7 separate regions of the Homo sapiens genome follow, and all the other regions are linked to region 1. Evidence: promoter capture Hi-C in 16 types of primary human blood cells and fetal thymus (Javierre and others, 2016). All regions are on one chromosome and are shown on one strand. The core of a region is centred on a gene start or on the middle of the fragment in contact, and the rest is flanking DNA. Distances in the headings are between cores, read along the strand shown.

The links. Contacts are between HindIII fragments. The CHiCAGO score rates a contact against its expected background, and 5 or more counts as called.
Region 2: a contact is called between a fragment that was not itself captured here and the fragment with the promoter of JUN in region 1, in 9 of 17 cell types (endothelial precursors, M0 macrophages, megakaryocytes and 6 more). The highest score is 16.5, in endothelial precursors.
Region 3: a contact is called between a fragment that was not itself captured here and the fragment with the promoter of JUN in region 1, in 9 of 17 cell types (M0 macrophages, M2 macrophages, endothelial precursors and 6 more). The highest score is 26.9, in M0 macrophages.
Region 4: a fragment that was not itself captured here is called in contact with the fragment with the promoter of JUN in region 1 in 9 of 17 cell types (monocytes, neutrophils, megakaryocytes and 6 more); the score reaches 11.2 in monocytes.
Region 5: a contact is called between a fragment that was not itself captured here and the fragment with the promoter of JUN in region 1, in 4 of 17 cell types (neutrophils, naive CD8 T cells, naive B cells and 1 more). The highest score is 7.5, in neutrophils.
Region 6: a fragment that was not itself captured here is called in contact with the fragment with the promoter of JUN in region 1 in 1 of 17 cell types (neutrophils); the score reaches 6.5 in neutrophils.
Region 7: a contact is called between a fragment that was not itself captured here and the fragment with the promoter of JUN in region 1, in 4 of 17 cell types (fetal thymus, total B cells, naive CD4 T cells and 1 more). The highest score is 7.0, in fetal thymus.

The regions. Positions count from the first base shown.
Region 1 is chr1:58,782,692-58,785,606 of GRCh38, reverse strand. It overlaps JUN (Jun proto-oncogene, AP-1 transcription factor subunit), which reads left to right and starts at 1,560. Exons shown (of 1, transcript NM_002228.4): 1 at 1,560-2,915. The coding sequence starts at 2,537. JUN-DT (JUN divergent transcript) reads right to left here and starts at 456. Exons shown (of 2, transcript NR_108106.1): 1 at 302-456. RefSeq lists enhancers at 369-1,114, 1,341-1,600, 1,115-1,862. The HindIII fragment of the contact is 7,855 bases long and covers 1-2,915 here.
Region 2 is chr1:59,763,542-59,766,456 of GRCh38, reverse strand. No RefSeq gene overlaps it. Among named protein-coding and RNA genes, the nearest start is that of MIR4711, 32 kb to the right of the region's middle. The HindIII fragment of the contact is 2,468 bases long and covers 226-2,693 here.
Region 3 is chr1:59,743,950-59,746,864 of GRCh38, reverse strand. All of the region lies in intron 14 of FGGY (FGGY carbohydrate kinase domain containing), which reads right to left. Among named protein-coding and RNA genes, the nearest start is that of MIR4711, 12 kb to the right of the region's middle. The HindIII fragment of the contact is 3,397 bases long and covers 1-2,915 here.
Region 4 is chr1:59,724,739-59,727,653 of GRCh38, reverse strand. The region is part of intron 14 of FGGY (FGGY carbohydrate kinase domain containing); the gene reads right to left. Among named protein-coding and RNA genes, the nearest start is that of MIR4711, 7.1 kb to the left of the region's middle. The HindIII fragment of the contact is 8,352 bases long and covers 1-2,915 here.
Region 5 is chr1:59,656,169-59,659,083 of GRCh38, reverse strand. All of the region lies in intron 11 of FGGY (FGGY carbohydrate kinase domain containing), which reads right to left. Among named protein-coding and RNA genes, the nearest start is that of MIR4711, 76 kb to the left of the region's middle. The HindIII fragment of the contact is 6,293 bases long and covers 1-2,915 here.
Region 6 is chr1:59,629,156-59,632,070 of GRCh38, reverse strand. All of the region lies in intron 10 of FGGY (FGGY carbohydrate kinase domain containing), which reads right to left. Among named protein-coding and RNA genes, the nearest start is that of MIR4711, 100 kb to the left of the region's middle. The HindIII fragment of the contact is 2,362 bases long and covers 294-2,655 here.
Region 7 is chr1:59,573,642-59,576,556 of GRCh38, reverse strand. All of the region lies in intron 8 of FGGY (FGGY carbohydrate kinase domain containing), which reads right to left. Among named protein-coding and RNA genes, the nearest start is that of MIR4711, 160 kb to the left of the region's middle. The HindIII fragment of the contact is 158 bases long and covers 1,328-1,485 here.

The DNA of each region.
Region 1 (2,915 bases), core at 311-2,810:
ATGGAAACTGCGAGGCAGGGGAGGGAAGCGGGCTGTTTGGCCACCACCTCCCTAGTGCTGCAGGCGACCCTGTCACACTAACTCCTGGCAGCCCAGTGAGGTGGACGGCACCGGCCCCACCTGCAGATGAGGGAAATGAAGCTCGGAGGAGTTCCGTGATTTGCTTGCTTCACACTGTGGTAGCCTGGCCACGAAAGAACCAGGATTCCCGACTTCGGGATTCTTTCCACCACACACTTTCGTCCCTAAGGGGTGGGGGGCGGGGGGAGAATAAAATAACCGCGGAAAAGGAACCACTTACATGTGTCTAGCGCTTCCTAGAGGCTACCCAGGATATGCGCCCACCACCCGGCCGGGAGTGCAGAGATTTGAAGTCCAGGTTCTACCCCGGGCTCCGAGTACTACTGCGTGACTTTATGCGAGTGTCCGCCGCCTTCTGGGCTTGTTTTCCCGGAAGCAACTCGGCGCGGATGGAGTGTGTGTGTGCGCGCGCGCGCGCGTTATGTTGTGCGTGTTGTGTTAAGCGTGTGCGTGTTGTCCGGGGGCGGGAGGGGGAGTAGACTAACACCGGGGTTCCCCGAGTTTCGGATCGCCTACACGCTTGTTCCCATCTGGACCCTGTTACCCACCAATTGCGCCCACTATAAAAACTGCCCCTCCGAGGCAAAGCTGTGAACCCCCGCGCCCTTTCCCCCACGGTCCCGGAGGATGAAGTGGGGTGCAACGGAGACTCAGCTGAGCGTCCAGTTTCGGGCAATACAAATCTCTCGGCTTCTACGAGCAGCCAGACGACCCCGCGGACCGTCGCTCCTGAACTTGACCGAGATGCAAACTTCGGAGTGTTCTCAACGTGGGGGGCCGACTCTCGGGAGACCGCCCCTAAACTTAAGTCCCCTTAGGCTCGCCCCCACCTGGGACTTCACAGAGCCACCTTAAGGGCGGTATTCCCGCCCCCCCGGAAGTGCGGGGGGGTGGCAGCGTACTTGGATTCTCAGCCTCCAGCCCCGCGCGGTGGCGGCCGCCGGTGGATGACTTCGGGCCCCACAAGTGGGGAAACAACAACCACCCCTCGCCCGCACCCCTGGCCCAAAACAACTGGCCAGGTTCCCTGGCCTCCCGGGTCCCTGCATCCCCCGCATCCCCGTCCGCAGCCGTGAACTTGAGCCCCCCTCCATCAGAGGTTGCGAGCGTCCGCCCGCTCGCGGCAGCCACCGTCACTAGACAGTCAAACCCCAAGACGTCAGCCCACAATGCACCGGGCGGGCCGGGAAAAACGGCCCGGGGAGGGGACCGGGGAAGAGAGGGCCGAGAGGCGTGCGGCAGGGGGGAGGGTAGGAGAAAGAAGGGCCCGACTGTAGGAGGGCAGCGGAGCATTACCTCATCCCGTGAGCCTCCGCGGGCCCAGAGAAGAATCTTCTAGGGTGGAGTCTCCATGGTGACGGGCGGGCCCGCCCCCCTGAGAGCGACGCGAGCCAATGGGAAGGCCTTGGGGTGACATCATGGGCTATTTTTAGGGGTTGACTGGTAGCAGATAAGTGTTGAGCTCGGGCTGGATAAGGGCTCAGAGTTGCACTGAGTGTGGCTGAAGCAGCGAGGCGGGAGTGGAGGTGCGCGGAGTCAGGCAGACAGACAGACACAGCCAGCCAGCCAGGTCGGCAGTATAGTCCGAACTGCAAATCTTATTTTCTTTTCACCTTCTCTCTAACTGCCCAGAGCTAGCGCCTGTGGCTCCCGGGCTGGTGTTTCGGGAGTGTCCAGAGAGCCTGGTCTCCAGCCGCCCCCGGGAGGAGAGCCCTGCTGCCCAGGCGCTGTTGACAGCGGCGGAAAGCAGCGGTACCCACGCGCCCGCCGGGGGAAGTCGGCGAGCGGCTGCAGCAGCAAAGAACTTTCCCGGCTGGGAGGACCGGAGACAAGTGGCAGAGTCCCGGAGCCAACTTTTGCAAGCCTTTCCTGCGTCTTAGGCTTCTCCACGGCGGTAAAGACCAGAAGGCGGCGGAGAGCCACGCAAGAGAAGAAGGACGTGCGCTCAGCTTCGCTCGCACCGGTTGTTGAACTTGGGCGAGCGCGAGCCGCGGCTGCCGGGCGCCCCCTCCCCCTAGCAGCGGAGGAGGGGACAAGTCGTCGGAGTCCGGGCGGCCAAGACCCGCCGCCGGCCGGCCACTGCAGGGTCCGCACTGATCCGCTCCGCGGGGAGAGCCGCTGCTCTGGGAAGTGAGTTCGCCTGCGGACTCCGAGGAACCGCTGCGCACGAAGAGCGCTCAGTGAGTGACCGCGACTTTTCAAAGCCGGGTAGCGCGCGCGAGTCGACAAGTAAGAGTGCGGGAGGCATCTTAATTAACCCTGCGCTCCCTGGAGCGAGCTGGTGAGGAGGGCGCAGCGGGGACGACAGCCAGCGGGTGCGTGCGCTCTTAGAGAAACTTTCCCTGTCAAAGGCTCCGGGGGGCGCGGGTGTCCCCCGCTTGCCACAGCCCTGTTGCGGCCCCGAAACTTGTGCGCGCAGCCCAAACTAACCTCACGTGAAGTGACGGACTGTTCTATGACTGCAAAGATGGAAACGACCTTCTATGACGATGCCCTCAACGCCTCGTTCCTCCCGTCCGAGAGCGGACCTTATGGCTACAGTAACCCCAAGATCCTGAAACAGAGCATGACCCTGAACCTGGCCGACCCAGTGGGGAGCCTGAAGCCGCACCTCCGCGCCAAGAACTCGGACCTCCTCACCTCGCCCGACGTGGGGCTGCTCAAGCTGGCGTCGCCCGAGCTGGAGCGCCTGATAATCCAGTCCAGCAACGGGCACATCACCACCACGCCGACCCCCACCCAGTTCCTGTGCCCCAAGAACGTGACAGATGAGCAGGAGGGCTTCGCCGAGGGCTTCGTGCGCGCCCTGGCCGAACTGCACAGCCAGAACACGC
Region 2 (2,915 bases), core at 210-2,709, 980 kb before region 1:
CGGGTCCTGTAGTTTACTGTAGCTCTGCAACATGCCACTCCATTCTGTCATTCTTGTCTTTTCTTCCTCACCTCCCCCAGCTTTTGTTCTCTTTGGCTCTTTTGAAAGCCACATTTATGTTCTTCGCATATGGGAAGTATTTTTGGTCAAAATTTAAAACCTGTAATGCGTTCCTTGGCAAAATGATTTGCTAAGCAAGTCTGGCTTTAACTTGAAAGAAAAGCTTTCAGTAGGCAACAAAACAAAAATCTCACAAACCACTCTGGCCACACTGCAATTCTTATTCATCAAAGCTAAATATACTTTACATGCATGTATTAAATAAAACCACCTTTCTCAGTGCAAGGAGGTGTGTATTGGAGTGATTAAAATTTTTATTACTGAGCCACACGTGGTTTCTAATAGAATTATATATAGACATTTATATTTTTTCCTAACACGGTGGCTTTATAGTAGGAACCAGAATGATTTTCTTAGGGATTAACCTCCTAGCTAGGAGGCAGAGAGAACCATGGAGAAACAATATTTGTAGAGTGCCTATTGTCTGAAAGGCATTGTGCTAAGGGCTTTATCCACAGTTCTTTCACTGAATCCTTACCACCAACCCTAGGAGGTAGGTAGCAGAATGATCCCACCACAGAGGGAAAGACTGAGGCTTAGACAGGTTAGCTATGTTGCCCAAGGTCTTTCAGCCCTTCTCCTTTCTATCAAGCTGCTCCTCACTGTTGAGATGCCAAAGGTGTCCTAGTGTTGCCATGTGTTTTTGCCTAATTTCTGTGTGTTTTCCTTTCTCTATAAAGCAGTGAAAACTCAGGTCAGGTTTGGTTTGGATACGAGTTTGCTTGAAAGAATGGCCAGCACCCGGAGCTTGGCAATCAACAACATGAGCACTGCAACTAAAGAGCAGGTGGTGGGCAGGATTCCTCTCCAGCTGTTACAGTGGGGTGATACCTAAAGTTTTGCATCCAGGCAGATCTGGATTTGAATCCTATCTCTGCTACCATCTGGTGACTCTGGGCAAAGTGTCTATCTTTTCTGAAACTCAATTTTCTCAACTATGTCTTTTCTGAAACTCAACTTTCTCAACTATAAGGTGGAGATAATGCTGCCTACCTCACAGTGCTGTAGGAGGATTGGAGAGGACATACAACAAGGACTTGGCAGATAGTTGGTAATTATTCATGCTTTTATGTCTGCCTTTTGTATCCACAGACAACCACCGCATTCACCAGGGTTTTGTGTGAGCAGGTCCAGGCCTGCCCGTTTCTCAGTGAGTGATAATCAGCTTTTGCAGCTGAAGCCTGTTTGACCATAGACCTGACATCTTGCTTAGATCCTGCAATACCCGACTCCTCTTCTGTAGTGATCCCCAATCCTCCTTTATCCCTAGTGCAACCTCTGGCTAGGATCTATGAATGCACTGGGCTTCCTTCTGCTTTTAGGCCAGCTAGATCAGACACGCACACCCACCTTCACTCGGGGCTATGCCTAAGGTCCCTATATCCTTTGGATACTGTAGAATGCTATTGCAGAGCTGACCTTCATAACTGGGGTGCTCACCCTTCTCCATGCTTACTACAGTTACTATTTTGAGCATCTTCTAGGAGCAGAGCCCTGTAATAACACAGGCATGGACCATGCAATTGAGCCGAGTGCTTTATATGCATTATCTCCTTTAGTCCTCATTATAATCCTGTAAAGTAGGTACTATTAACATATTCAGGCCAGGTGCGGTGGCTCACGCCTGTAATCCCAGCACTTTGGGAGGCCGAGGCGGGCGGATCACGAGGTCAGGAGATCGAGACCATCCTGGCTAACATGGTGAAACCCCCGTCTCTACTAAAAATACAAAAAATTAGCTGGGCGTGGTGGCGGGTGCCTGTAGTCCCAGCTACTCGGGAGGCTGAGGCAGGAGAATGGCGTGAACCTGGAAGGTGGAGCTTGCAGTGAGCAGAGATCAAGCCACTGCACTCCAACCTGGGCGAGAGCAAGACTTCGTCTCAAAAAAACAAAAACAAAAACAAAAACAAAAAAACCAACAACAACAACAACAAAAAAAACATATTCATATTCAATACCTATTCATTTCAAAATGAGGAAACTGAGACTTAGGAAGATTAAGGACCTTTCTCCAAGTCACCCATCTAGTAAGAGGTAAGACCAGGCCTAGGATCCCAGGCCAGGGCTCATAGCTGTTACACCATATTGTTTTTCATCCCACCTTCTCCTTCCTCCTTTTCTGACTGATGGGCTCCATGCAGCAGGTACTTTTTTTTTTGTAATTGTAGCATTTCTCATAATGTACTGTCATCAATCTATTTGTCTATGTCTCTCATTAAACAGGGAGGTTCCTGAAGGCAGGGGCCATGTCTTATTTATTCCTGTAGACCAGTGCTTACCACAACATGTGGCACAAAGTACTCCAGAGGATGTTTATTTACTGAATTATATTGGCTTTTTCTTCTCTACCTGCTGTCTTTTGCTGAAGTCTTAGCATGTCCTCTACCCACACTCATTTGAGCTATGACAGCTCTCAAATCAACGTTAGCAGTTACTCTTGGGTCTGAAATTATGTGTGGGTGTTGACATATTTATGTATGTATATGTATGTGTATGTCTGTGTGCGTTTGTGTGTCTGCTGTGGTATCAACTAAAACAGCTAGTTTTCCCAGTGCTTGTCTACATCAAAAGCTTTTAGCCATCAGGTTTCTTCAGTTTCCTTTAATCTGGAAACTTCCCACAGCCTTTCTTTGTCAGTATGACATAGATATTTTTGAAAAATATAGTCCATTAAAAAATAAAATGCTTCCCATGTTGCGTTTGTCTGATGTTTCCTTCTGATTAGATTCAGGCTCTGCATTAAAATGCTCTTTCTTTTCTCATATCTGGAGGCACACAATGTCCATTTGCCCATC
Region 3 (2,915 bases), core at 113-2,612, 960 kb before region 1:
CATAATCCAAACCCTAGTTCTGCCATGAACATCCTGAGTCTCAATTTCCTCATTTTAAAAATGGAAATTTTAGGCTGGATGCAGTGATTCACACCTGTAATCCCAGCACTTTGGGAGGCTGAGGTGGGAGGATCGCTTGAAACGAGTTTGAAACCAGCCTGGGCAAGATAGGGAAACCCTATCTCAACAAAAACATAAAATAAAAATTAGCCAGGTGTGATGGTACGTGTTTGTAGGCCCAGCTACTCAGAAGGCTGACTGAGATAGGAGGATCCCTTGAGTCTGGGAGGTTGAGGCTGAAGTGAACCTCGATTGTGCCACTGCTCTCCAGCCTGGGCGACACAGTAAGATGCTGTCTCAAAAAAAGGGAAGTTTTAATACCTATTTTATAGGCCTATTGGATGGACTAAATGCTTAAAAGTGCAGATATTGTTATTATTACTATGTACCTATCAACTGAAATAAACTTTATTTTCCCAGAAACTTTATTGAAAGGTAAGTGTTGCCATGTGTGTATGTTTCAGGTGGGTTGGGGAAGGTGATAACAGTCATTATTCTCAGGCCTCCTCATTATCATTTCCAGACAAGTATTCCTGCAGTTGCAGGCAAAAAAGCCTGTTCCTCTGAGGTTTATGCCACCTAATGATGGAGATACAATGACACATGTCTCCCCTGCATCTCACTGCTGTCACTGTCAGCCTCTTGTTTCTGTCCCTATGTTAAATGAGGCTAAGGCTCCTAGATCACAAGCCTCCCTATCTACCTGGAGGTTTATCATTGTCCTGGACAACTTCAGCATCTGCTCATAAGACCCATCCAATGTTCCACTGTTAGACGGTTTCAAAATGTTTCCACCTCCGGGACCTTCATCTCCATTTCACTTCAATACTCCCACAGCCCCCCTTGAGACTGCTATACTTATGAATATTACAATATACCAACAGCCACTTTCTGAATTCCATTGCCCTTCAGTCCAATTCTCTCATGTACTCTATCATTCTTAGCAAATGTCCTTCTCCACTTTAAAGCAACTTCCAGAATCTCCATCACTTCATTTTCTTTCAATTCATGTGCCCTGTCTGGCTCTAATTTCTTCCATAGCTAGCTTAGAGTCCATCATCTTTTGTGTCATTTACCGACAAGAATCTGCAATATTCTCTTAACTGCCCAATTCAATAGCTACCTTCAGTCCACAGAAACATTTAGCCAGGATATGCTTCACTTATGGCTACAAGGGACAAAATCTGCTTCGGAAGGAGCAGGCCAATGGGAGACTGCAACTCAAGAAAGTGAAATATCATGAAAGGCCGCAGGGTCTGAACACTTTTGAAATTTGCACTGCCTGCTTCAATAGTAATTCCTTCCCATGATGATCCTTTGGCCAGCAGATCAGCAACCAAATCGACAGCAAAGAATCAAAATGTGTGATAATATTAACATAATGAATAATGATTGAGCTGCAAGGGATGTTGGTTAGTCACTAGGCCAACTGCTCTGGGTTTAGGCAGGTGAATAATCGAAGCTAAGAGGCAAGGAATCTATCCATCCATCTATCCCTCCATGCTCTTTCAAGTTCCCTGCTTTTGGATCTCCAATTCTTCTAAGCGAGAGCCATTTTGGTAGTGGGGCCTAGATATTCTGGCCTAGACTTTGGAGCTGGCCTTAGACTGTTTACGATACAGAAACCCTCTAGCCAAGCCAGAATCCATTCCAAACCAACTTCCAGAGGAAAAAGACAAGCAAAGACATCGAATCTGAAGCCAGGAGTTGAGAGGCTAAGGATGGTACCAAAGTAAGAGAAGGGCTAGAAGCCAGGAGCATAGAGAGAGCAGAGGTCAGACAGATAGAGTGACAGGTGTGGAATGCAGGTCCAAAGCAAATCACTGTAGTGCCCTTTTAAACTCTCTTTATTATGTGTTTATAATCTCTTCCATGTTCCCAAAGCTCACTGATTTTCCTCTGTCTTATCATTCAGCACACAGTAGGATAAATGTCTGTTTTCTTACGTCTCCCCACTGGACTGTGAGATGTCAAAGGGTAGAAGCCATTAACTTTCTCTGTATTCCCCAAAATTGATATAAATAATGCAAAAATGTAATAAATACATGTTGAAAGAATTAAATGAATGAGTAAATGGATTAATGAATTAATGAATGAATCAGGGGTAGGATCCAGGATATCTGTATAAAGCAAGTTTAGGATCTCCCTCAGTTGTACTTTTTGGTATTTCCTGCCAGGTCAACACATTCTTCATTGTCCGATGTCAGACAGTTAGGATCACAGGCTCTAGACTGGCTAGATTAGAACTTTGACTCTTTCACTAGCTAACAGAATGGCTTGGGTGGGCCGGGCGCAGTGGCTCACGCCTGTAATCCCAGCACTTTGGAAGGCTGAGGCGGGTGGATCATCTAAGGTCAGGGGTTCGAGACCAGCCTGGCCAACATGGTGAAACCCTGTCTCTACTGAAAATACACAAATTAGCTGGGTGTGGTGGCAGGTGCCTGTAATCCCAGCTACTTGGGAGGCTGAGGCAGGAGAATCGCTTGAATCCAGAAGGCGGAGGTTGCAGTGAGCCGAGATCGTGCCACTGCACTCCAGCCTGGATGACAGAGGGAGACTCTGTCTCAAACAAAACAGAATGGCTTGGGCCTTAACTAACCTCTTTGTCCCTCAGTTTACTCATCTGTAAAATAGAAGTAATAGAAATAATTACTCATAAAGTTAAAAAAGAAAATGCATACAAACCACTGAAATTAGTGCCAGTCACAAACTAATAGTTTCAAAAATGTGAGTTATTTTTATTCTAAAAATTATTACATCAATCTCCACCCCAGCGCTACACAGGATCTTGTAATGTTCTCTTGAGTGATACTATTTAAAGACAGCACTTCCTAATCTGCTGCTGCATGTGACAT
Region 4 (2,915 bases), core at 149-2,648, 940 kb before region 1:
AGGAATAGCATTGAATCTGTATGGGAAGTATGGCCATTTTAACAATATTGATTGCTCTGATCCATGAGCATGAAATGTTTTGGCATTTATTTGTATCATCTCCAATTTCTTTCAGCAGTGTTTTATAGTTCTTGTAGAGATCTTTCACCTCCTTGGTTAGTATATTCCTAGGTAATTCATTTTAACTGTGAATATTTTCAAAGAACTTAAAACAGAGCTACCATTCAATGTAACAATCCCATTACTGGGTATACATCCAAAGGAAAAGAAATCATTTCACCAAAAAGACACATGCACTCGCATGTTCATTGCCATGCTATTCATAATAGTGAAGACATATAATCAACCTAGGTGTTCATCAATGGTGGACTGGATAAAGAAAATGTGGAACATGTACATCACAGATTACTATGCAGCCATAAAAAAGAAAAAAATCACGTCCTTTTCAACAACGTGGAGGTAGCTGGAGGCCATTATCCTATGCAAATTAATGTAGGAACAGAAAACCAAATACCACATATTCTCACTTGTCAGTGGGAACTAAACACTGAGCAGACATGGACATAAACATGGGAACAAGAGACACTGGGATGTCTAGAGGGGGACAGGAGGGAGGGGAGACATGGGTTGAAAAACTACCTATTGTGTACTATGCTCACTACCTGGGAGAAAGGATCTGTACCCAAACCTTAGCATCACACAATATACCTATGTAACAAACCTATACATGTACTCTTTGTATCTAAAATAAAAGTTGAAATTAAAATTTTAAAAAAGCAGAAGAAATAATAAAAATTAGAGCATAAATCAATGAATTTAAACACAGGAAAGCAATAGAGAAAAATCAATGAAACCAAAGCTGGTTCTTTAGAAAGAGCAATAAAACTGACAAACCTTTAGCCAGGGTAATCAAGATAAAAAGAGAGAAGTTACAAATTACTAACATTGGCAACTAAAAATAATTTAGATGAAATGGACTACTTCTTTGAAAGACAAAAACTATCAAAATTTACACAAGAAATAAATCATCTGAATAGAGCTGTATCCACTAATGAAACTGAATCAATAATTAATTACCTTCCAAAAACCAAAGTGCCAGGCCCAAATGGTTTTTACTAGTGAATTTTAGCAAACATTTAAGGAAGAAATTATACCAGTTCTTTACCATGTCCTCCAGGAAAATAAGCAGAAGAAAAACTTACTGGCTCATTCTATGAGGTCAGCATTACCCTATTACCAAAACCAGACAAAGACATTAAAAAAAGAAAGCCAAAATCCACTCTCTCTCATGAATATAGATGCAAAATATTCTTAATATAATATTAGCAAATCAATCCAACAACGTGTAAAAGGAATTATATACCACAACCAAATACGATTTACTCCAGGTGTACAAGGTTGGTTCAACATTCAAAAATCAGTCAATGTAATCCATTACATCAACAGATTAAATAAAAACAATTATATAATCATGTTGATAAATGAAGGAGAAATATTTCAAAAAAATCTAACAATCATTTTTTATTGTGATTAAAAATTAAAAATTCACAGCAAACTATGAATATAGGGGATTTTCCTCACCTCGATAAAGAACATGTACAAAAAAACTCTACAGCTATTATCATACTTGATGGAAAACTGGATGCTTTCCCACTAAGATCAGGAACAAAGCAAGAATGTCCTTTCTCACCACTCCTATTCAAGACTGTACTGGAAGTCTTAGCTAGTGCAAAAAGACAAAGAAATGAGAAGGCATACATACTGGAAAGAAAGAAAGAAAACTGTCTTTATTCTCAGATGACATGAATGTCTATGTGGAAAATCACAAAGAATGAACAAATCAACCAACCCACCCAATGAGAACACCACCAAATCCTGGAACTAATAAGCAAACAAGTAAGGGTATAGGATACAGGGTTAATATTCAAGAGTCAATTTCTTTCTAGCAATTACCATTGAGGAAAAAATGGAATTTGATTAAGAAATAACACTTAAAATAGCATGCTGCAAAAAAAACAAAAAACAAAAAACAAAAAAAACCCCCACAAAAACACTTAGGTATAAATCTAACAAAAGTACACAGAATCTATATGTGGAAAATTACAAAACTCTGATGAAATAAATAAATTGAATTTTCAGCGAACTATTTTTAAGTATCCATAAAATGATTCTAAAATTTATATGGAAAGGCAAAAGATCTACATTAGTCAACATAATACTAAAGAAAAAGAACAAAGTCAGTGAACTGACACTACCCAACTTCATGACTTACTGTAAAGCTACAATAATTAAGACAGTGTAAGGTTGGGGAAAGAAAAGACAAATAGATCAATGGAACCAAGGAGAGAATCCAGAAATAGACACAAATAGAGTCAACTGATTTATTCCTTTTCCAACTCCTTTGACAAAGGAGTAAAGGTAATTCAAAGGATATAGTGTAATATTTTCAACAAGTCATGTTTGAAATATTGTATGTCCACATGCAAAACAATGAATTTAGACAGTGACATTAGACATTCTGCAAAAATTAACTCAAAGTGGATCACATATGTAATTGTAAAACACAAAACTATAAAACATCTAGAAGATAACAGGAAAAAATTTAGGTGACCTTGGGTTAGGTGATAAGTTTAGATACAAAACCAAAAGCATAATCCATGAAAAAAATTGATAAGCTGGATCACTAAAATTCTAAAACTGCTCTGCAACAGACATTTTTAACAGAATGGAAAGACAAGCCACAAACTAGAAGAAAACACATATCTGATAAAGAAACTTGTATCTGAATATACAAAGAACTCTTAAAATTCAACAATAAGTAAACAAGCAATGTAGTGAAAAAGTAAGCAAAATATATGAACATGTGATTCACCAAAGAAGATATATAGATGGCACATAATATATATAAAGACACT
Region 5 (2,915 bases), core at 285-2,784, 870 kb before region 1:
ATTACAGATGTATACCACCACATCTGGCTAATTTTTTTGTATTTTTAGTAGCCAGGCTGGTCTCAAACTCCTGACCTCATATGATACACCTGCCTTGGCTTCCCAAAGTGCTGGGATTACAGTTGTGAACCACTGCGCCTGGCCAGAAGCCATCTTTCTTGACCTCCCCTGTCTTCCCATATTTAAGCAGTCTCAAAGTTTTGTACATTTGATCTCCCAAATCTCTTTTGAATGCATCTCCTTTTCTTGATCCTTACTGTCATTCACTTCCTTAATTCAAGCCACCATTATGTCCTTCCTAATTGCTGACAGAGGCCCTGAGCAAATCTCACTGTTTCTAATTGTGCTCCTTTCCATACTAGAGCTAGATCGACTGTTCTTAAATGCAAATCTGATCGTGTTACTCCCTGTAAAACGTTCTCCCCATTGCCCTCATTTCACAGTAGAAATGCGTTCACTGTCTCATGTGCTTCTTCCTGGGCTCGCCCTTGCTTCTTCTCCAGTGTTTACTCTTGTCCCTCCTCACTCTGTATCCTATGCTCCAGCTATGCTGAATTATTTATCTAAGTCTGTTGATGCGGGGATTCCTACATTCAGTAGAGCTACCTGCTGACAGTTTTTCTTGGCAAATAATTGGGCAATCAGATTAGAATGATGGCTTTGATTTTTTAATACACAAGAAGATGGAAAATTTAAATGAGAGACACGAGAAGAACTCTGGCGCTGAATCATCCTAAGCCATTAACTGTGAAAGAACATCCTTCACAAAGTTTCCCAGAGACCTAAGCATATGGTAAGAATTCTGGAACTCAGAGAGAACATGAACAATGCTGACATTATGGAACTTTATTTCACAGTGAGGAAATAATGTGCCTAAGGGAACACAGAGAATGGACACCAGAATGTAGGTGTTCTGATGGTCTTTGCTCGTCTTACTCACCAAAGCTCTAATGTCCAGTGCTGTGCCTGGAACATAGTAAGCACTCAGTTAATATTTGCTGAGTGACAATTCACTCAGCACTGTGAACTATGAACCAGTGACAATTCAATGCTTCTTTTCACCTTTTAGACACCACTTTCTCTCCTTATGTCCTATCCTTCTTTGTTAAATTCTACAAGTACAGGTGGACAAAGTTTACTGCCTCAGCTCCTCACACAATCAGAGAGGAGGAGACCATGCCCCAAGAGAAAAGAACACTGGAAGAACACTTTTAGTTACTTGCTCCATGTTGCCACCTGCCCTCCACCATCCCTAAACTTACCCTTTCTCATCAGAGAAGTGGCTTTTATGAGAATAGGGTAAAAGGAAGGGTCCCTGTACCTCATATAGAGCCTTTGTCTTGAGTTTGAAAAAGGCACCCCATCTGGGAGTATGAATTATAAAAAGGTGCAGAGTAAGCAGGATTTCAGCCTGGTCATAGCCCCCTGAGTGGAACACTTTCTGTGAGCTGCCTGCACCATGCTGGCATGCAGTGGTCCTGGCAATGATCACTAGTCATGAACACCAGTCATGAGCTGAACATCCCTGAGCTGAACACTTTCTGCGAGCTGCCTGCACCATGCTAGCATGCGGTGGTCCTGGCAATGATCACTAGTCATGAACACCATTCACACACGGTTTCTCTGTCTCTCCTGTACTGGCCTGGCCTCAACAGCACCTCTGCTATTAGGTCTCCTAGGGAAGTTGCTGGGCCATGGCTTAGTGCACTGTTCTAGAGCCTGTCCAGGAGGCTGCCTCCCTTTGGCTTCCTCTCTCTGGTCATCAATGGGAAGAGGATTAAGCCATGATCCTCTGTGTGGCTGACCCACTCCTGAAGACCAGATTTGGATGATTTTTGTTGGGAGTGGGGGTAAAATATGACTTTGTATATAAGATGCATTCCCCTAACAATATTTATTAGGAACCCCAGTGCTTTGTATAATAATACTGATAATGTAATGGGTTCTGATATCCTTCTCAATTAGTAAGAATCCATAAGAGAGAAGAAAGGGTGTGACATAGCTGGATTTAACTTCCTTAATCCCCAGCAGATATCCACGAGAATTTCCAAAAAGCATTGGTATTCATGCAAAAAGATATCACGGACCCTTCTCTAAATTTCCAGTGCCTCCAGAGCTCAGAAATCATAGAGCAGAAACGGGAGGATAATTTTTTTCCCCAGAAACTGAGAATGATATAATCAATGTAATTGAGCACTAAATTTAAATCCTGAGCTTGCTAGCAGCTATGGCAAAAAGGGACACATGAGGGTGAAATAGCTTTTTTTCTGATAAATAAAACATAGCTATCCTTGAAGGGAGACAAAATTATTCCTGGGAAGAAATTCTAGAAGAGATTTCTTGCATGGATCATAATATAGAAGGTATTCAGTATCAAAAGGGAAGCCACAAACACAATTCTCATACAACCGTTTCCAGTATTCCCTCACCACTAACACTAGAGCCATGGTATTGAAATGTGACTTAGTGAAAGATATTTATCTCTCAAGTGCAAAGACACTGTGGTCTGAGGTCCTTGTTTCCTTGACATCTCATCTGATATGCAGATGATCGTTAAGTCCATTTAATTTTCTCTCAAATACCAGGGACCTCAGCCCAGTCAACCCATGACGGAACTTTGCAAGGAGTGCCATGAAGACTGCTTGAGAGGCTACAAAGGACCCTCGGGGAGCTGTCTTCGAAGGGAGGTGGTGACAGTGCCCTGGGAGTGCCAAAGAAGTCCTGGGAGAGGCACAGCTTTGAAATGGCTGAAAAGGCTAGGATAGGCCAGATGAACTGATTCCCTAGCTGGAGGCTGAATGGTTCCAACAAGAGGAAGTGGAGAGGAAGCATGAGTAGAAGGAGTGTGTTTATTGATGTGCCTGTGCCTATTTTGAATGTTTGGGCGAGACAGACAAATGTGTAGGGAAGCCCGA
Region 6 (2,915 bases), core at 225-2,724, 850 kb before region 1:
CCCTGGATTTTAAGTTTTGCTTTGCTGCCAACCTTGAATCTAGCACTTGTGGATTATGCCAAAATGTTCTCACTAAACCCTGTTGTCACCAGAACCTAATTCAGAGACACTGTTAGTTAAGAACCTCTAAGAGAATCAAGTTTAGAGGAAAAGAGTCAAAATTTATGATTGACATAAGGTGATCTCTGCTAAAGAGTGAAATATCTGCAAATTTGGCCCCACATGAAGAGAAACTTTGGTTACCAGTTACATGTACGGGCACATCCAGTTCTTGTTTACTTAATTTATAAGCTTGCAAAACACTTCTCTTCAGAGATGGGGCCTAAGAGGATTATTGTAAATCAAGAGTATAAAATACTCAATCTGTTTATCAACACTTGTTTCCACAGTTTCAAACAGGATTTGCTGACCCTAAGCTCTGAGATAGGGGTGACCTGCATTGCTGTTTTCAGAAAGCCCCAAGTCATAGTAAAAGAGACACATGGTTCTTGATTCAGAAGGATTTGTCCACTCTTCCAAACAGCTAACTTCATTTCAAAAACAGCTATGCCTGTTTCTTTCTAAGACCGGAAGCATAAAGGGTCCCATAGTTTTAGAATATTGTACTCATAGATCTAATAAGACACAGATGCACTTTCCTTTGTAAGACAATAAAAGAAAAGTGGAAGGAAACCGAACTAACATTTACTGAATACCTACTAAGTATCTGGGCTGGACATAAAAGAGTCATCAAAATATAGACAGAAATGAAGTCAAGAGCATAGCTGAGATCATCTTGGAAGAGATGGCAAAGAGAGAAGAGGGCCAGGAAGCTAGCTGTGACAAAAATTAATGTTAATGGTCAAGAAAAGGACTATAAACTCAAGAAAAGTGGTTAGGAAGGAGGAATCAGAGATATAGGGAGAAAACAGACAGGGTGACATTCCAGAAAGTCAAGGAAAGAGAATGTTAAAAGGAGGAAAAAGTGATCACTGATGCCCCATGCTGCTGAGAACTAAAGAAAGGGGAATAAAAAACATCCTATGGACTTAGCAAAATAGAGGTCACTGATAACCTTAATATGAAACGTTTCAGGGGGCTGATGGTGACAGAATTCAAACTGCAGTGGGCAAGGAAGGAGTAGGAAGTGGAGAAGTAGAGACCAAGAGTACAGGCGATGCTTTGGAGAAACTCCACTCTAAACAGAAGGAGAAATACAGGAAAGTAGCTGGAAGTGGGTTTGAAGTTATGTGAAAAGAGGTGGGATTTAAATCCAGTTCTGACTCCATCACTGAGTTCTGTAAGTTGCTGCTTCTGAACCACCCGATACTGTTGTTTCTCTGAGTTTGCATGGTAATCCATAAATTCTTTCTTCTTTTTATTATGATTTGCAACAGAAGCTACTCAAATGAAGTTTATCTATAGAAGAAAGTTCTGGAAGTTTAGAGTATGTCATTGCAAAACTAAATATTCAGTAAGTTTGTGTTACACACTAAAATGTTCATATACAGACATTCCTGTGACCTGCTTTCATCCTATTAATGCCTGTAAAATGAAGTAAGTAGGGTATCATTATTGTAATTTATGGATGAAGAATCTAGTAGTCATTGAGACATTCAGGGCAGAACAGGTACAAGAACTCAAGGACTCTAATTCACAGTCCCTGTCCTTGCTGTTCCTCCATGCTTTCCATAAGAAGGCAGGCAAGGTATGAATGACTGACGTATGCTGCTTGAACCCATAGCAACCACCACCAAACTTCCTCCTCTTACAATCATTAGTAGTAATAGTAGTAGTTGATATGGTTTGGCTGTGTCCCTACCAAATCTCATCTTGAATTTTAGTTCCCATAATCCTCATGTGTTGTGGGAGGGACCTGGTTGGAGGTAATTGAATTATGGGTGTGGTTACCCTCATGCTGTTCTTGTGATAGTGACTTCTCATGAGATCTGATGGTTTTATAAGGGGCTTTTCCTCCTTTTGCTCAGCACTTCTCTCTCTTGCCACCATGTGAAGAAGGATGTGTTTGTTTCCCCTTCCACCATGACTGTAAGTTTCCTGATGCCTGCCCAGCCCACAGAACTGTAAGTCAATTAAACCTCTTTCCTTTATAAATTACCCAGTCTCAGGTATTTCTTCACAGCAGTGCAAGAATGGACTAACAGAGTAGTAGTGATCATCATTATTGTCACAATTCAGTTTACAAGGCCCCGTCAAATATATTACCTCTTCTAAACTCAAAATAAATCCTTAGAGGTGTTTCGGGTTGATTCTCCATTACTATCCTATGTTATAATGAAGAAAATGGGTTTCACACAATGATACATGTTGGAGCTGAGATTTGGATTCAGGTCTCCAGACTATAAATTTAGTGCTCTTTTCTTTGGCTTAGTGGTTTATAAATGCTTAAACCCTTTAAGAAAATAATGACCGTTATGGTCCCTTCACAGAAATACATGCAGAATTATGTAATCAGCAGAACAGTACACAATTTAAAGAGGTTCATTGATGATCCGAAATTAGGAATCCCTTTTCTAGGTTATATGGTCTCTATGCCACTAATATGCTAGTTGGTAAGGTTATGTGACATAATCCCTCTCAATGGTAATTGTAATTAATGACTAATTGCAATGGCATTATAACTAAAGACTCCTAGAAGGGAATGCCTATGAAGCTTTTCTTAAACTCCTTGTCAAAATCAGTCCTCCTTTTCTACACAGCCTGATAACACACTACGTATATTTTACTACAGTATTCATTTATTCTGCTCTGTGTAGGTGTGCTGATCCTATTAGAATGTAAGTCACTTAGTAGAATGGAAATGTCTAATATACTAACTACAACAATCATTTATTTATTTATTTATTATTTATTCATTTTTTATTTAAGTTCCAGGGTACATGTACACAATGTACAGGTTTGTTACATATGTATAC
Region 7 (2,915 bases), core at 157-2,656, 790 kb before region 1:
AGTTCTGGGATACGTGTGCAGAACGTGCAGGTTTGTTACATAAGTATACATGTGCCATGGTGGTTTGCTGCACCTATCAACCCGTCATCTAGGCTTTAAGCCCTGCATGCATTAGGCATTTGTCCTAATGCTCTCCCTTCCCCTTTCCCCCTACCCCCCGACTGGCCTCAGTGTGTGATGTTCCCCTCCCTGTGTCCATGTGTTCTCACTGTTCAACTCCTGCTTATGAGTGAGAACATGCAGTGTTTGTTTTTCTGTTCCTGTGTTAGTTTGCTGAGAATGATGGCTCCCAGATTCATCCATGTCCCTGCAAAGGACATGAACTCATTCTTTTTTATGGCTGCATAGTATTCCATGGTAAATATGTGCCACATTTTCCTTATCCAGTCTATCATTGAGGGGCATTTGGGTTGGTTCCAAATCTTTGCTATTGTAAACAGTGCTGCAATAAACATATGTGTGCATGTGAGAATGCTTTTTATCACCACAACTGTTCAGCATAATACCAGAGGCCCTAGCAAACACAATTAGACAAAAATTAACAGCAAAAGAAGATATAAAGAAGGGAAGAGAGAAGCAAAATTTGCAGATGATATGATCTTGTATATATAGCTCATACTGTCCTCTATGTTTGGACCACTTTTTTCCTAACCAAAATATCACAGATATCACTTCCTTACAGAAGCCTTCACTGACCATCCAAACCATATGAGAATATTTAGTGTTGTACCTAAAAATTACTGTAACATTTATAATGCATGCAGAGCATATATAATACATGCACATTTTAAAAAAATAAGAAAGTTTAGCAAGGTTAGTGGGTAGAAGATTAACTTTTTAAAAATCTGTGGGAATGTAAACTAGTACAGGCATTTTGTAAAACAGTATGGAGTTTCCTCAAAAAAATGACAAATTACCATGTGATCAGGCAATTCTACTTCTGGGTGTATCTAAACGAAATGCAAACAATATGTTGAAGAGATGTCTGCACTCTCATGTTCACTGCACCATTATTCACAATTGCCAAGATATGAAATCAACCTAAATGTCCATCAACAGATCAAGAAAATGTGCCATAGATTCAAAACAAAATACTATTCAGTCTTAAAAAAGAAGGAAATTCTGTCATTTGCAGTGACACAGACGATCCTGGAGAACATTATGCTAAGTAAAATAAACCACACACAGAGGGATAAATACTGCACGATTTCACTTATATGTAAAGCTTAATAAAGTTGAACTCATAGAAGTAGAGAGTAGAATGTTGGTTATTAGGGTGGGGTTGCCAAGGGGTAAAGCAGAGATGTTGGCCAAATTGTACTAAGCTTGGGTTAGACAGGAGGAATAAGTTTTGAAGATCTGTTGCACAGCATGGTGACTATAGTTAATAAAAATGTATTGTATATTTGAAAATTACTAAGAGAGTAGATTTTAAATGTTCTCACCACAAAAAAGTATGTGAGGTAATGAATATGTCAATAAGCTTGATTTAATCATTTTACAATATATAGTATATCAAAATTCACATTGAACCCCATAAATATATACAATTTGCATTTGTCAGTAAGAAATAAACGATAAAAATAAATTAACATACACTTTTTAAAAACCATAAAAGATAACTATTTTTCTCAGCAACCTATATTAAACATAACTAGCACTGATTTTAGTATATTAGCATTTGGAAGCAAATTTGATGTATAAAACTTTGCTTCTTTTCATTGGAAATCTCACAGGTATTATTCATTCATATTAACAAATAATTTACTTTCTAAAAAAAGTCAAATATATTTCTCTATTCCAGAAATAACCAAATAGGAAATATAATAGAAAATTCAATGTAATTCATAAAAGCAATGAAAAATCACTAAACAGAAATTTGATTTCTTTTATCTTTGTTCCTTCACTATACACAGAGTGCAGAAGTACTTTATATTTTCCAAATAAATTAATACTTTATTTTTATGTACCTTAAAAAACACATTTAAATGTCACTTCTTTCCATAAAGGGTATGGTAGGCTGAATAATGGCTCCTGAAAAGATCACCATGTTCAAATCCCTGGAACCTATGAATGTTACTCATATGGCAAAAAAATAAAAAAGAAAGAAAAAAAAAGGACCCACAAATGTGATTAAGGATCCTGACATGAGGAGACAATCTTGGATTATTTGAGTTGGCCTAAATGCAATCATAACTGTTCTTGTAAGAGACAGGGAGAGGCAGATGTGACCACAGATGAGGAGGAGGCAATGAAACCACAGAAGGCAAGGCTGGAATGATGTGGCCACAAGCCAAGGAATGCCAGCAGCCACCAGATGCTGGAAGAAGCAAGGAACAGGTTTTCCCCTGGAACCTCCAGAGGGAGTACGGCCCTGTTGACACTTGATCTTGGCTGAGTGAAACTGGTTTTGAACTTCTAGTCTCGAGAACCATAAGAAAATATATGTGTGTTGTTTTAAGCCACCAAGTGTATGGCAACTTGCTACAATAGCAGCCATAGGAAACTAATACAAAGAGTTTGAGATATTTTATCTACCACTCCCACAAACATACATACACAGATAATATAGTACAGAGTGACTAGAAACAGTAATGCAAGACAATTACAGCAAAAAGAAGAATGGAAATATGCTATGTAGTAGAAGGCTCAACAGTTTAGCTTGAGTGTTAAATTTTTAACTCTGAGTTTCCTTGGCTTCCAGGGCCAGAAGAAAAATGTAATCCATTATATAGCTTTTATTACTGGAAAGATGAAAATACACCATTTGAGATTGAACAACACTTTTCCAAATGGTAAATTCTAAAATAAATTCTCAAGTGGGATTTTATATGGGGCACAATGAGTGGTATATTAACTCATGGTTATGCCAAATATAAGCATGGCCTTCACATGACTACTTCCTTCTATTAAAA